Regions from separate parts of the Homo sapiens genome. Here regions 1, 2 and 3 are each linked to region 4. Evidence: promoter capture Hi-C in human tissues and cell types (Jung and others, 2019). All regions are on one chromosome and are shown on one strand. Each heading gives the region's core, a stretch centred on a gene start or on the middle of the fragment in contact. The rest is flanking DNA. Distances are from core to core; before and after follow the strand shown. Region 1 overlaps DMC1 (DNA meiotic recombinase 1). Region 2 overlaps GTPBP1 (GTP binding protein 1). Region 3 overlaps GTPBP1 (GTP binding protein 1). Region 4 holds the start of APOBEC3F (apolipoprotein B mRNA editing enzyme catalytic subunit 3F).

Region 1 (2,993 bases), core at 77-2,576, 480 kb after region 4:
CTATTCCCAGAATATGTCAGATACACTCCTGCATCAGGGCCTTTGCACTTTGTGCTGCCTCTGCCTATCATATTCTTTCCTCTTAGATCTACATGGCTTGCTGTCATCTCTTTCAGGTCTTGGCAAAAATGTCCATGTCTCAATGAGAACTTCTCTGATCACTTTATTTGACAGTATAACCTCCTAACTTTCATACTCTGTCTTCCTTGTCCCCTTTCCTGGCCTTATTTTTATCCATACCATTTAATAACATCTGATGTACTACATATTTTACTTATTTGTGTTTATTTTTTATTTTATTTATTTATTTTTTTTTTCAGACGGAGTCTTGCTCTGTCACCCAGGCTGGAGTGCAGTGGCATGATCTCAGCTCACTGCAACCTCTGCTGCCCAGGTTCAAGCGATTCACCTGCCTCAGCCTCCCGAGTAGCTGGGATTACAGGTGCCCGCCACCACGCCCGGCTAATTTTTGTACTTTTAGTAGAGACAGGGTTTCAGCATCTTGGCCAGGCTGGTCTTGAACTCCTGATCCCATGATCCACCGCTTCAGCCTCCCAAAGTGCTGGGATTACAGGTGTGAGCTACCGGCGCCTGGCCTATTTGTGTTTATTATCTAATCTCTCACTAGATTGTAAACTTCGTGAGAGAAAAAAATTCTGTCTCTTTTGTTCTCTAGTTTATCCCAAGTGCACAAAACAATCCCTGGCATAAACTAGGTGTGCAATAAATATTTGTTGAATGACTAAATGAATGAATAAACAAATAGTGAATAAGTTTGAGAAGTACCATATACTATATATTCTTCTTGAAGAGTCACAGCGCACACTAGCCTGTGAAATCCTGCAGTGACACAAAACACCTGTTTTGGCAGGGCACGGTGGCCCACACCTGTAATCACAGCACTTCGGGAGGCCAAGATGGGTGGATCACCTTAGGTCAGGAGTTCTAGACCAGCCTGGCCAACATGGTGAAACCCTGTCTCTACTAAAAATTACCAAAAAAATGGCTGGGCACGGTGGCTCACACCTTTAATCCCAGCGTTTTGGGAGGCCGAGGCGGGTGGATCACTTGAGATCAGGAGTTCGAGACCAGCCTAACCAACATGGAGAAACCCCGTCTCTACTAAAAATACAAAAAATTAGCCGGGCATGGTGGCATGTGCCTGTGGTCACAGCTACTCGGGAGGCTGAGGCAGGAGAATCGCTTGAACCTGGGAGATGGAGGTTGTGGTGAGCCGAGATCGTGCCACTGCACTCCAGCCTGGGCAATAGAGTGAGACTCAGTCTCAAAAGAAAAAAAGAAAAAGAAAATACCTGTTTAACCCAGCATTGTCCCAGACTTTTAAAATCACATACCCTTTTTTCAAGTAAAGTTAAGGAAGAGGCTTGGAGAAATCCTACCCCTAGGCAAATTGGTCAAAATGAGGTTGATCAACAAAACACTTGATTCAAATGACAATCTGATTTTCTTTAGTTACTCTACCACATGGTGGTCTAAGAACCACTGGGCTAAAGAAATAATTACTGTTATTGTGAGTTTTCTGGTGCCCTTGATGTTTGCTCTTGAGAACAGAAAAGATCATTCAGGAGCTAGGTTTTTTTTTGTTGTTTGTTTGCTTTTGAGACAGAGTCTTGCTGTGTCGCCCAGGCTGGAGTGCAGTGGCATGATCTCGGCTCACTGCAACCTCCGCCTCCTGGGTTCAAGCAATTCTCCTGCCTCAGCCTCCTGAGTAGCTGGGACTACAGGTGTGTGCCACCACACCGGGCTAATTTTTGTATTTTTAGTAGAGACAGAGTTTCACCATGTTGGCCAGGCTGGCCTCGAACTCCTGACCTCAGATGATCCACTTGCCTCGGCCTCCCAAAGTACTGGGATTACAGATGTGAGCCACTGCGCCCAGCCAGGAGCTAGGTTTTTAAAAATTAATATTTAATTAATTAAAATATTATACATTTTTCCTTAAGCTTTAAGTCCCTTTATAAATCTAGCACATTTTAAGGGTGCTTTTATAACAAGATTAAATTCTCTTAAACATTTTAATTATGTTTATACATTTAGTGTATTGTATTTTCTTTAAGAACTTTATTTGTTGGCCAGGTGCACTGGCTCACACCTGTAATCCCAACACTTTGGGAGGCTGAGGCGGGTGGATCACAAGGTCTCTACTAAAGACAGGATCACCCTGTCTCTACTAAAAATACAAAAATTAGCCGGGCATGGTGGCGGGTGCCTGTAATCCCAGCTACTCAGGAGGCTGATGCAGAGAATTGCTTGAATCCAGGAGGCAGAGGTTGCAGTGAGCCAAGATCACGCCACTGCATTCCAGCCTGGGCGACAGAGTGAGACTCCGTCTCAAAAAAAAAAAAAAAAAAAAAAAAGAACTTTGTCTAATTATCTAATTATTAACAGCAAAATCTTCCCAATTACCTAAATATCTTTTGTAACTCAAATAAATTTAGAAGTATAGTGAGTTGTAGGCACCATTAAATGTTCAAATACTATTTATAAAATTAGTTATCAACTTGAAAATTGAAGGAATGTACCATTTAATCAGTCAGAGGCCAATCCATTACAAAAAGGTCAAATTATCTTAAACGTTAAAAGGTCTCAAATAGCAAATATGCACAGGTTATTACCAAATTTATTTATTTATATTCTATTTTATTTTTTGAGACACGGTCTCACTCTGTCACCCAGGCTAAAATGCAGTGGCTCCATCACGGCTCACTGCAGCCTGAGTAGATGGGACTGCAGGCACAGGCCAGCATACCTGGCTAATTTTGGTATTTTCTGTAGAGACTGGGTTTCGCCATGTTATCCAGGCTGGTCTTGAACTCCCAGGCTCGAGCGATCCACCTCCCTCGGCCTCCCAAAGTGCTAAGATTACAGACATGAGCCACCATGCCCATATTGCCAAATTTAATATGAAAATAGTAATCTATGGGTTTGATTTGTGTCTCTATTTTTAAATCTCCCTATATTTAAAAACACTA
Region 2 (2,959 bases), core at 444-2,943, 330 kb after region 4:
TATAAAATAGTTTAAGAATGATTTTGAGATTTCTTCAATCTTCAACTCAAACTACAAAAGAATTATTACCTGGCTTTACAAAGCCTACATTCAGCAAAGAAAAGTGTTTCTTTAATGATGCATCCAGGCCCACCTGGGCTTCCTGCAAAGATGACAGAGACAAGTGCTGGTATGGGCTGAATTCATAATCGTTAACAACCCCAGCTGTCATTTCAGCAAAGATAATCCCATAATGAAGATGAAGGTAAGCAGGTCTTGTATTGAAGTTGCTAACTAGGAGTGACCAGGGGAAGAAACCATAATATACTCTGGGATTGTTGTGAGGGCTGCCTTCCTCTAAAATAGTAGGTTCTGTTACAAGGAATAAGCAGCTTGGAGAACAATAACCAGTCCCTTTCAGAATGGTTACAAGCCTATGTGTCTGACAGGATCCAGTGGGGAGAGAGGACGACCTCTGTTATCCCAGCTATCCAGACTAAATAGTCAGTAGGGTCTGGGGCAAGGAGCCTGACAAGAGAGGAATTCTGGGCATCTTTTCTCTGCTGACACCAAGAAGAATCACGGAGGTCCTCTGCTAAGCAGAAAATAAGTCGCAATGGGATCTGTAAACAGGGCCTGGAAGGGAAGACCTCCAGCTGCCCAGGAATAAGCTTAATTCTAGACCTAACTATGGCTTGCCCTATTACCTTAGACAAGAAGTTCCTTTGCTTTGTGCTTCATTTCCTCTTATGCAAATAGAGAGTACTGGAGGTAAAAAGGAAGCATCTGTAAAACTGCTTGGAAAGTCAAGCATATTATGGCCACTAAGGTCAGAATTAACATTCACTTTGTACTTTTATGTACTCCAAACAGTTCTGCAGACACTAAAGAATCACTGTAACTGAGACACATAAGCAGAAAAGTTCAAAAAGCGGGGAAAATGTGCTCTAAATAATTTCTTTTTTTTTTTGAGACAGAGTTTCACTCTTGTCGCCTAGGCTGGAGCACAATGGCACGATCTTGGCTCACTGCAACCTCCGCCTCCCAGGTTCAAGCAATTCTTCTGCCTCAGCCTCCCAAGTAGCTGGGATTACAGGCGCCTGCCACCACTAATTAGCGCCCGGCTAATTTTTTGTATTTTTAGTAGAGATGGGGTTTCACCATGTTGGCCAGGCTGGTCTCGAACTCCTGACCTCAGGTGATCCACCCGTCTTGGCCTCCCAAAGTGCTGGGATTACAGGCGGCAGGGCCACCGCACCCGGCCCAATAATTTTTAAAAATAAAGTGAAAGGAAAACTATGCTCACCTGATCCCTGCCCAATGACATATATGGTCTCTCCGCATCCCTCGTCCATCCTCTCCCACATCTGCCGAAGTAGGCTGTCATACTGCTCTGATGTAGGGCTCACTAGAACCAGCTAGAAAAGAAACCAACAGCCTTAGGACCACACTTGCTAGAAGAGCACCACAGCCAAAGCTGATCAATATAGCCTAACCAAAGATCCTGACTGAACCCCATAGCACCCTCATCTAAAAAGGCTGCACAGCCCCTTCATGCCCTCTCTGCTTCTCCTGAAGTAGCCTTTGAGCCTCAGGCCTTATATGAGCCAAATAATATACTACAATGTGTATGTCTGAGCCATAACCCATGGTAAAGAGGGCACAAGCAGCCTGCCTCCTGCTGCTTAACAGGAAGGGCAGGACCCAAGTGACTGAGAATATGGCACTGTGGATAGAAAGCGCAGTGCTTTCCATCTACATGCCAAAGTCTTCTACCTGCAGTTGGCATCTGGAAGCCCACAAGACATATACCTCATATACCTCCATGCCCTCCACCCACAGGCCAGTGGCTTCCAGGATAACAAAAGAATTCTGTTCTATCTTGTCTTAGCTATATTGAATATTTGGGAATGAAAACTGCCTGCAAGACTCATCTTCATCAACAAAGCACCATCACCATTACCACTACGAGGAGTATTAGCACCGTCATTTTGCAAATGTCTGCCAATAACATTGAAGTGTCAACCATTTACTTGGGTAAGCCATTTGGCAATCAGACCCCATTCTCTAACCACTCCTGTGTGACCTTGGACAAAGAATTTAACCACTCTGAGTTTCAGTTTTTCAATCTATAAAACGGAGCTAATACTACCTGCATCCTAAGGCCACTGTAAAGAGCAAATATAATAACATGTAAAGCATCTAGTCCACAGCTCAATAAATGTGAAACTACAAGGTTTTCTTCACCCAATCATTCCCAGAAAAACCTTGTTGGATGAAACTAGCCACCACTATTCACTAAGTGTTTCTCCCTTTGGAAGCTCTCGGAGCCTTAGGTCTCCACATTTTCTATCGTAAGGACATGAACCTTTCGCTTCTAATCTGTTCCTCCGGAATCAATCTATTCAACCCAACCCTTCTCTCCCTCCACACCATCACTTTTTCTTTTTGATATCATCGATATTAATATACATATGATTTTTTTTAATTGTAAGGAGGACTTCCCCAGCTATGTGATGAAATAACACTTCTAGGAATATTAAATGAGCTGGTCAAGAAATGAAGGTACTACCGTCTTTGCAACTCTGCCCTGCAATTTCCTATCATGTTTCTTCAGCACCTTGACCATGTGTTGACATCCAGTTTGTTTGCTCTTGAGTCAGGTCCATAATCTTGTAACTTCCTGAGTTGACTCATCAGAGCTTGTAATTGTAACCTGGATGTTTCCTGGGTCTTTTACATCGTCCTGGCCATCCCTCTCTCTAAGTTTGGCCATCCTCATTATGGCCTTACAGGCACAAGACAGGACCAACTTTGACAGGCTAGCTGGCTTCCAAGTGCTCACCTGAGACTACAATGGCAAAGAGCAGTTGAAAATAACTTGCTTAGGTTGCAGGGAAAGTTCCTCCCCAGTTTAGGACCAAGTTTCATGCAAATTTGCCGCCATAAACTATAAAAAGTCACAAACATTTTCAAAGCT
Region 3 (3,129 bases), core at 331-2,830, 320 kb after region 4:
TCAGGAAGGCTTCATGCGGGAATCAGCACTTCAGCTGCTCGGCCATGAAGGACGCATGAGGAAGCAAAGGCAGGCAAGCATTCAGGGGGAACAACAGGTGGGCATGACCTGACCACTGTGGGGAAGAAAGTCCTACTATTCCTGGTTAATTTAGTTGGTGGGTAAAGGTAGGTGACCCCTGAACTACAACCCACCCCAAACCCCAGGAGATAGAAGGCTGAATGGGAAGAGGATGTGGCGCAGATCCCAATGGTCCTATGTAGAAGGATCCTTGCACAGCAGGGATACTCCTATTTGACCTCACCACTGAGCTCAGGCCACCCTGCTCAGGCACCAGAGGGAGGAACGGAGCTTAGAAGGAGGCATTCCTCGCTCTAGCACTTACAAGCTGTGTGTCTTGGGCAAGTCCCTGGGCTCTGAGCCTCAGTTTCCTCATCTGTAAAAATGAAGCCAGTAATCCCGACCTTGCAGAGCAGCCATGAGGACTAGAGTGGGTGAGCAGGGCATCTGGCCAAGAGCCTAGCATGATGGAGTCTGAGGGGAGCGTTCAGTATCATCGCTACTCACCTTCTTCAGCGCAAAGGATGCTGTCTGGCCACCCCGCACCTCCTTGACAGGCATGCGCTTGCGATGGATGGATTTGACAGCAATGGACAGGAAGTTACCCAAGGGGTCTGGGCCCAGCAGCAGCGTGTCATTCAGCTTGATCAGGCCTCTCAGTGTTGTCCCCGAAACCACTGTCCCCACACCCTGCCAAGGAGAAGACCCTGGCCTCATAAGTGCATCCCCAGCACAGACCCACCCCCTGATGCCACTGTAGGAAGTGCCCACCCAGCTACCCGCCCAGAGCCACTTACCGGGACGGAGTAGGTGTCATCAATCTGAAACTCAGCAGGCTCCTCCTCCCTGTAGCTGGTGCGGGGGGAGAGGAGGTTGAGGAACATCTTCAGCAGATCTAGGTTCTCGCCTGTAACGTTGGAGATCTGGAATATCGGGCACATCCTAAGCAGAGGGAGAAGAGGAAGGAAAAAAGGAGAGAGGCACTCAGGAGACCAGGTCCTGCCCTGACACAGACCAGGGGCAGCAACAGGGCTCGAGGAGCAGATGCCACTATTCATGACTCCACCTCTCCCTCACCTGCCTCCAAGGGCTTGACCTCTTTGCCCTGACCTAGCAAGCTCCTGGCCAGCCCTACTCTGAGGCCTTCTTCTCTCACTCAGTTCTGTCTCTGACACCTGTCCTCTCCTCTCTGTCCTCCACCACTGCCCTAGTTTGGAACCTCATGACTGCTTCTTCCTAAAACACACGCATGCTTGCTTAAAATCCTTAACCGCCTTTCCACCACAGAGAAGATACCCCAAATCCCTCTCCCAACACTCACAGCCCTTTGGCTTGGGCTTGTAGCCATCTCTGCAGATTCACTTCTCGCAAATTCCTATATTCCAGCCACACCAGAGAACTCTCCCTTCTCCTAAAACTTTGGAACTTTTCTGCCCTTGTGGATTTGCTCACTCTGACCTTCCTTCCTGAATTCTTTCCCTTTTATGCAACTACCAGGCCCTCTCACCCTTCAGAGCTCATCTCAAATACCACTTCTTCCATGAAATCCTTCCTGGGTGGACACTCTTGACTCCTCTGAGTTCCTGGAGAGCTTTTTCTCTATTACACATGACTGCATCTGATTTTTCATCAGAGTCCTGTAAATGGCCTCTATTGCTCCTATTCAGGGTGACTGAATTAAAATCCTTGAGATCACGAATTACACATTCCCCACAGCTCCTAGAATAGTGCCTGCACAGAATAGGCACTCAAGAATATCAACAAGCTCAAATGGGGCTGTCTGAAATGTGCCCCCTCTGCAGGCTAACTGATGGTACTGAAGATCACATCAGGGCAGAGGCATAGGCAAAAAGCCAGGCTGCTCTGGGCCTGGCGCTATAGACCAAGCTCTGGGCAAACAGGCAGAGTTAGTAGAGTTCACCATTATCGAGAGAGCATCTCTCACCAAGGAGCTGAACACCTTGAGGACAAGGATTGTGTTCAATTCAACTCTGAATCCTCAACATCTAGATGAAGAGTCTCGCAGAACAAACATCCAATAAATATTTATGGAATGAAAGAATACATTAATGAGTAAATGCCAAAACTGATCTGATTAGTGAGCTTTTGAGGAACAACAGTATAAAAAACTGAGTTACAAAAATGGCTGTGTATTTACCATCCATCAGCCAGGCAGGGCATTAAGTGCTCTACATACTTCATTTCCAACATTCACGGGAGCCCTACAGGGAAGGGAATGTTATTCCCATTTCACAGATAAGGACACTGAAGTCTCAGCCGGGATGCCAACCCCAGGAATGCCAGCACCTCACAATCTGGGTTACGTGATATTACCCCTGGGCAACAATGCTGGCTTGGGAGACCCTGCGCTAAGATTGGAAGCTTCTATTTCCTCCGATCTCTGAATAGGGAGAGGTGTTGATGTGGTGTTTTCATGAGACCTTATGCCCAAACTGACAGCCATTCCAGGCCCATCACTCACTGTGGTCCTGCCTGCAAGGGTGCCTGTCTGAAGTGTGCGCTCCCCACGCGTTACCTTTCAGAGCTGAAGTTGGAGGCTGTGACAATCACATCATCTTTGCTCTGCACCAGCACGGGGATCTTCCGGCAGCCTGGTGACTTCAGCAGGCGCTGTAACAGCTTCAGGGTTTCTTAAAGGGTGCAATGGAACAGAATTAGGGGGACACAGCCTTCTCTTTGGCCAGGCTTTAAGAGCAAGATGGGTCCACTCATTACTGATGCAAGCAGGAGACAGACAGATAGATGGACCAGTGTTAAATGCCACAATGCCTGGAGAAGCAAAAAGGAGGATCAAAACTTTGGGTGCTGCTAGAGTAAGAAAAGCACAGATGGGGCCTCTTTTCTAGGGTTCTGCGTCTGAAACCTGGCAGATTTCTCTTGTGTCTAGACGACCTGCCTCCTGTAAGCATGTGACTTGAGGGTCCCCAAGAAAAACAATTCACTTCACACTTCAGTTCTCAGAATGCACTACTTCCTGGAAAAAAATCTCATCCAACAAAAAGGATCTCTTAGACATTTAGAAGTCTACAGAGACCCTTATTATGAGGC
Region 4 (3,266 bases), core at 589-3,088:
TCGTTCCAGGAGTACATTCCCCACCTTCCCAGTATTTCTCCCACCCATTCTCCAACGCATTAGTAAAATGCAAAAGAGAACAAAGTTCTTGGCTGGACATTATGGCTCATGCCTGTAATCCCAGCACTTTGGGAGGCCGAGGTAGGCCCATCACTTGAGGTCAGGAGTTTGAGACCAGTCTCACCAACATGGTGAAACCCAGTCTCTACTAAAAATATAAAAATTAGCCAAGCGTGGTAGTGGGTGCCTGTAATCCCAGCCACTGTGGAGGCTGAGGCAGGAGAATCGCTTGAACCTGGGAGGCGGAGGTTGTAGTGAGCCGAGATCGTGCCACTGCACTCCAGCCTGGGCTACAAGAGCGAAACTCCATCTCAAAAAAAAAAAAAAAAAAGAGAGAGAGAATAAAACTATTCACCCCAAAATAATAGATTTTAACCTTTCAGCCAGTTCCTTCTGACATTTCACCTCTGTATATTACTATTGTTAAATCATGGTAGAACCGAATTCTGAGGCCCAGGCCACTCTTCTAAGTGCTGCGCGGATGTGAGCTCATGTGAGGCTGCCCTAGGCCCGCACGGGCCATTCCCATCTTACAGAGGAGGTGCCAGAGGCGCAGAGAGATGGGGTAACCTGCCCAGGCCACAGAGCTGGGGACGGATGGGGCTGGGGCCTCTTACCAGACCAGCCCTGTCCAGTCTCTGTGTCACCAGCCTTGCAGGAGGGAGCCATTGGGGACCAGACTCTCTTCTTACTAAATTTTAAAATAATAGCATTTCTCCTGATCATTGAGTTTTTTTCCCATATATTCCATGTTTTTTGTTTTTGTTTTTTTTTCTTTTGAGACGAAATTTGGCTCTTGTTGCCCAGGCTGGAGTGCGATGGGGCGATCTCGGCTCACTGCAACCTCCGCCTCCTGGGTTCAAGCGATTCTCCTGTCTCAGCCTGTGGAGTAGCTGGATTATAGGCGCCCGCCACCACACCCGGCTAATTTTGTATTTTTAGTAGAGACAGGGTTTATCCATGTTGATCAGGATGGTCTCGAACTCCCGACCTCAGGCAATCCACCCACCTCAGCCTACCAAAGTGCTGGGATGACAGGTGTGAGCCACCGCACCCGGCCACTATATTCCATGTTACTCGTGTCATTTATAAACAGTGAATGCTGATAGTGGAGGAGGAGCGTGTGTTTGGGGTCATCTGCATCCTCCTCTGCCCACAGTGGAGACATCCTTGGAAGATACGATTTATCTTGTGCTTCAGAGACCATTCCCTCCCCACACCCTCTCCTAAGACTTGCTATTTAAGCAAAGTAAATGTTACAGAAAATCCATCAAAGCACTGTGAACAAAATTCCACATTGCTCTAATCATCCTTTGGTTCAATTCTCCCAGTTCCAGAGTTCAGGAATGGCGGAAAGAACACAGAGGGAGCACCCTCCCAGGGCCGGGAGCACCAGCCCTGCCATGACTTTCGGTGGCGGGGGAGAGTCTCAGCAGGGCACCTGGGCTGGGGCAGGTGGGGAAGCGGCCTATTCAGAAGCAGCAGTGGGGCAACCACAGAGCAGGAAAAAGAGCCTGGCTGGGAGTGGCGGGGGCAGGGGAGCCAGAGGGGAGGGAGCCCAGGGCTGGGGCTGGGGCAGGGGGAGGCCAGGGCTGACGCCCAGCAGAGCCACCAGGCAGGAAGGGGCAGCAGAGGGGCCCAGCGGGTAGAGCGGGCAGCGGTACCTGAAGTGAGGCTTCATCCTTGGCCGGCTAGTCCCGACTAAGATCTTTGTCTGGAGCACCAGGGTTTCACTTTCTGCTCCAGGCTCCAGGTTTCAGGACAGCCCTCCCTAAAGTGACCTCCCAGGGCCTCGTAGTCATGGCCCCTCCCCCTTCCTGCTCAGGCGCTGGTGTAGGAGGCCCTGGGACGCTTTATCTTCCTCAGTCTCTCACCCTCTTTCTGGTTTTCTCTGGGGCCCTCCCCCTGGCAGAGGGACCTCTGATAAAGACAGGCCGCTCTGTGCGGCAGGACCCAAGGCAATTGCAAAGGGAAAGAGAAAGTCATTGCAGCCAGCGCCCGCGAGGTGGGTCCACACCAGGCTGAGCCAGCAGAGCACAAGCCCCTCCCCTGGTGGTCCCGCCCAGCTGGAGCCTCCTCTCCACCATCAAGACAGACAGGCTGATGCCTCCGCAGGGACTCCCGGATCCTGCCCTCGGGGATCATCCCAGAGACGGCCCCCACCCAGCGGCCATGGGGACAGGGAGGGAGAGTAAAGGGCCAGGTGTCTGCCTCTCCCCAGGCCTTCACCCTCGGAGGCCACCGTGGGAGGGAGGGACAGCAGGTGGGTGTGGGCCTCAGATGTCCCACCGGGATGCCATGCGCGCCCCCACACTGAGCTCTTTCCTTCCTGCTTCTCCTTCTTCCCCATCTCCTGCCCGGAGTTCCTCCCTGGTGGGCTGAGCTCTCGCCTCCTCTTGTCCCCATGTCATGGAAGAGCAGTGGCTGGTGTCCCAGGCCAGCCTGTCTGGAGCCTCCCTGCGCGTCTCACAGCTCCCTTCCCCTGGTAGCGTGTTCCCATGGCGCGGTGACCTAAAAATTACACAAGGGATGCATTTGGTTTTTTTGTTTGCTTTTGTTTTTTTGTGTTTTTTTGTTTGTTTGTTTGTTTTGAGACGGAGACTTGCTCTGTTACCCAGGCTGGAGTACAGTGGCGTAATCTCAGCTCACCGCAACCTTTGCCTCCCAGGTTCAAAAGATTCTCCTGCCTCAGCCTCCCATGTAACTGCGATTACAGGCACCCACCCCTACGCCTAGGCTAATTTTTGTATTCTTAGTAGAGACAGTGTTTCTCCATGTTGGTCAGGCTTACAGCCGCCCACCACTATGCCTGGCTAATTTTTGTATTTTTAGTAGAGACAGGGTTTCTCCATGTTGGTCAGCTGATCTCGAACTCCCGATCTGAGGAGATCCGCCCGCCTTGGCGTACCAAAGTGCCGGGATTACAGGTGTGAGCCACCGCGCCTGGCCACAATGTATAAATTTGGAAAGGAGATTTTATTTCTTGTTAAGGGTGACAGGCAGCAAGGTAGCCATCCCGCAGCCTGGGAAGAGCAGCCTCTGGGAAACACCAGAGACAGACATTTAGAAGCAGGAGGGGTTGGGGCAGGAGCTTTATGCTGAAGGGGTTGGCTAAACATACATATTCAACAGGCTATAGGAGGAGCTATGAATATTCATGTGGGTGGCTGCACTCCATGCTTATTGAACAAACATGCGTGTAACAT

Evidence for each region. Contacts are between HindIII fragments. The study calls those that stand out against the background at their distance.
Region 1: a fragment that was not itself captured here is called in contact with the fragment with the promoter of APOBEC3F in region 4 in 1 of the 25 tissues and cell types used here (spleen).
Region 2: a fragment that was not itself captured here is called in contact with the fragment with the promoter of APOBEC3F in region 4 in 1 of the 25 tissues and cell types used here (thymus).
Region 3: a contact is called between a fragment that was not itself captured here and the fragment with the promoter of APOBEC3F in region 4, in 1 of the 25 tissues and cell types used here (mesenchymal stem cells).

The regions. Positions count from the first base shown.
Region 1 is chr22:38,557,342-38,560,334 of GRCh38, reverse strand. All of the region lies in intron 5 of DMC1 (DNA meiotic recombinase 1), which reads left to right. Among named protein-coding and RNA genes, the nearest start is that of DMC1, 11 kb to the left of the region's middle. The HindIII fragment of the contact is 5,518 bases long and covers 1-2,993 here.
Region 2 is chr22:38,707,283-38,710,241 of GRCh38, reverse strand. GTPBP1 (GTP binding protein 1) reads right to left here. Exons shown (of 12, transcript NM_004286.5): 2 at 1,286-1,397. Among named protein-coding and RNA genes, the nearest start is that of GTPBP1, 2.8 kb to the right of the region's middle. The HindIII fragment of the contact is 3,166 bases long and covers 111-2,959 here.
Region 3 is chr22:38,723,879-38,727,007 of GRCh38, reverse strand. It overlaps GTPBP1 (GTP binding protein 1), which reads right to left. Exons shown (of 12, transcript NM_004286.5): 6 at 2,597-2,711; 7 at 858-1,002; 8 at 568-750. Among named protein-coding and RNA genes, the nearest start is that of GTPBP1, 19 kb to the right of the region's middle. The HindIII fragment of the contact is 3,648 bases long and covers 1-3,129 here.
Region 4 is chr22:39,039,436-39,042,701 of GRCh38, reverse strand. It overlaps APOBEC3F (apolipoprotein B mRNA editing enzyme catalytic subunit 3F), which reads right to left and starts at 1,838. Exons shown (of 7, transcript NM_145298.6): 1 at 1,725-1,838. The coding sequence starts at 1,741. RefSeq lists enhancers at 139-916, 1,969-2,028. The HindIII fragment of the contact is 19,854 bases long and covers 1-3,266 here.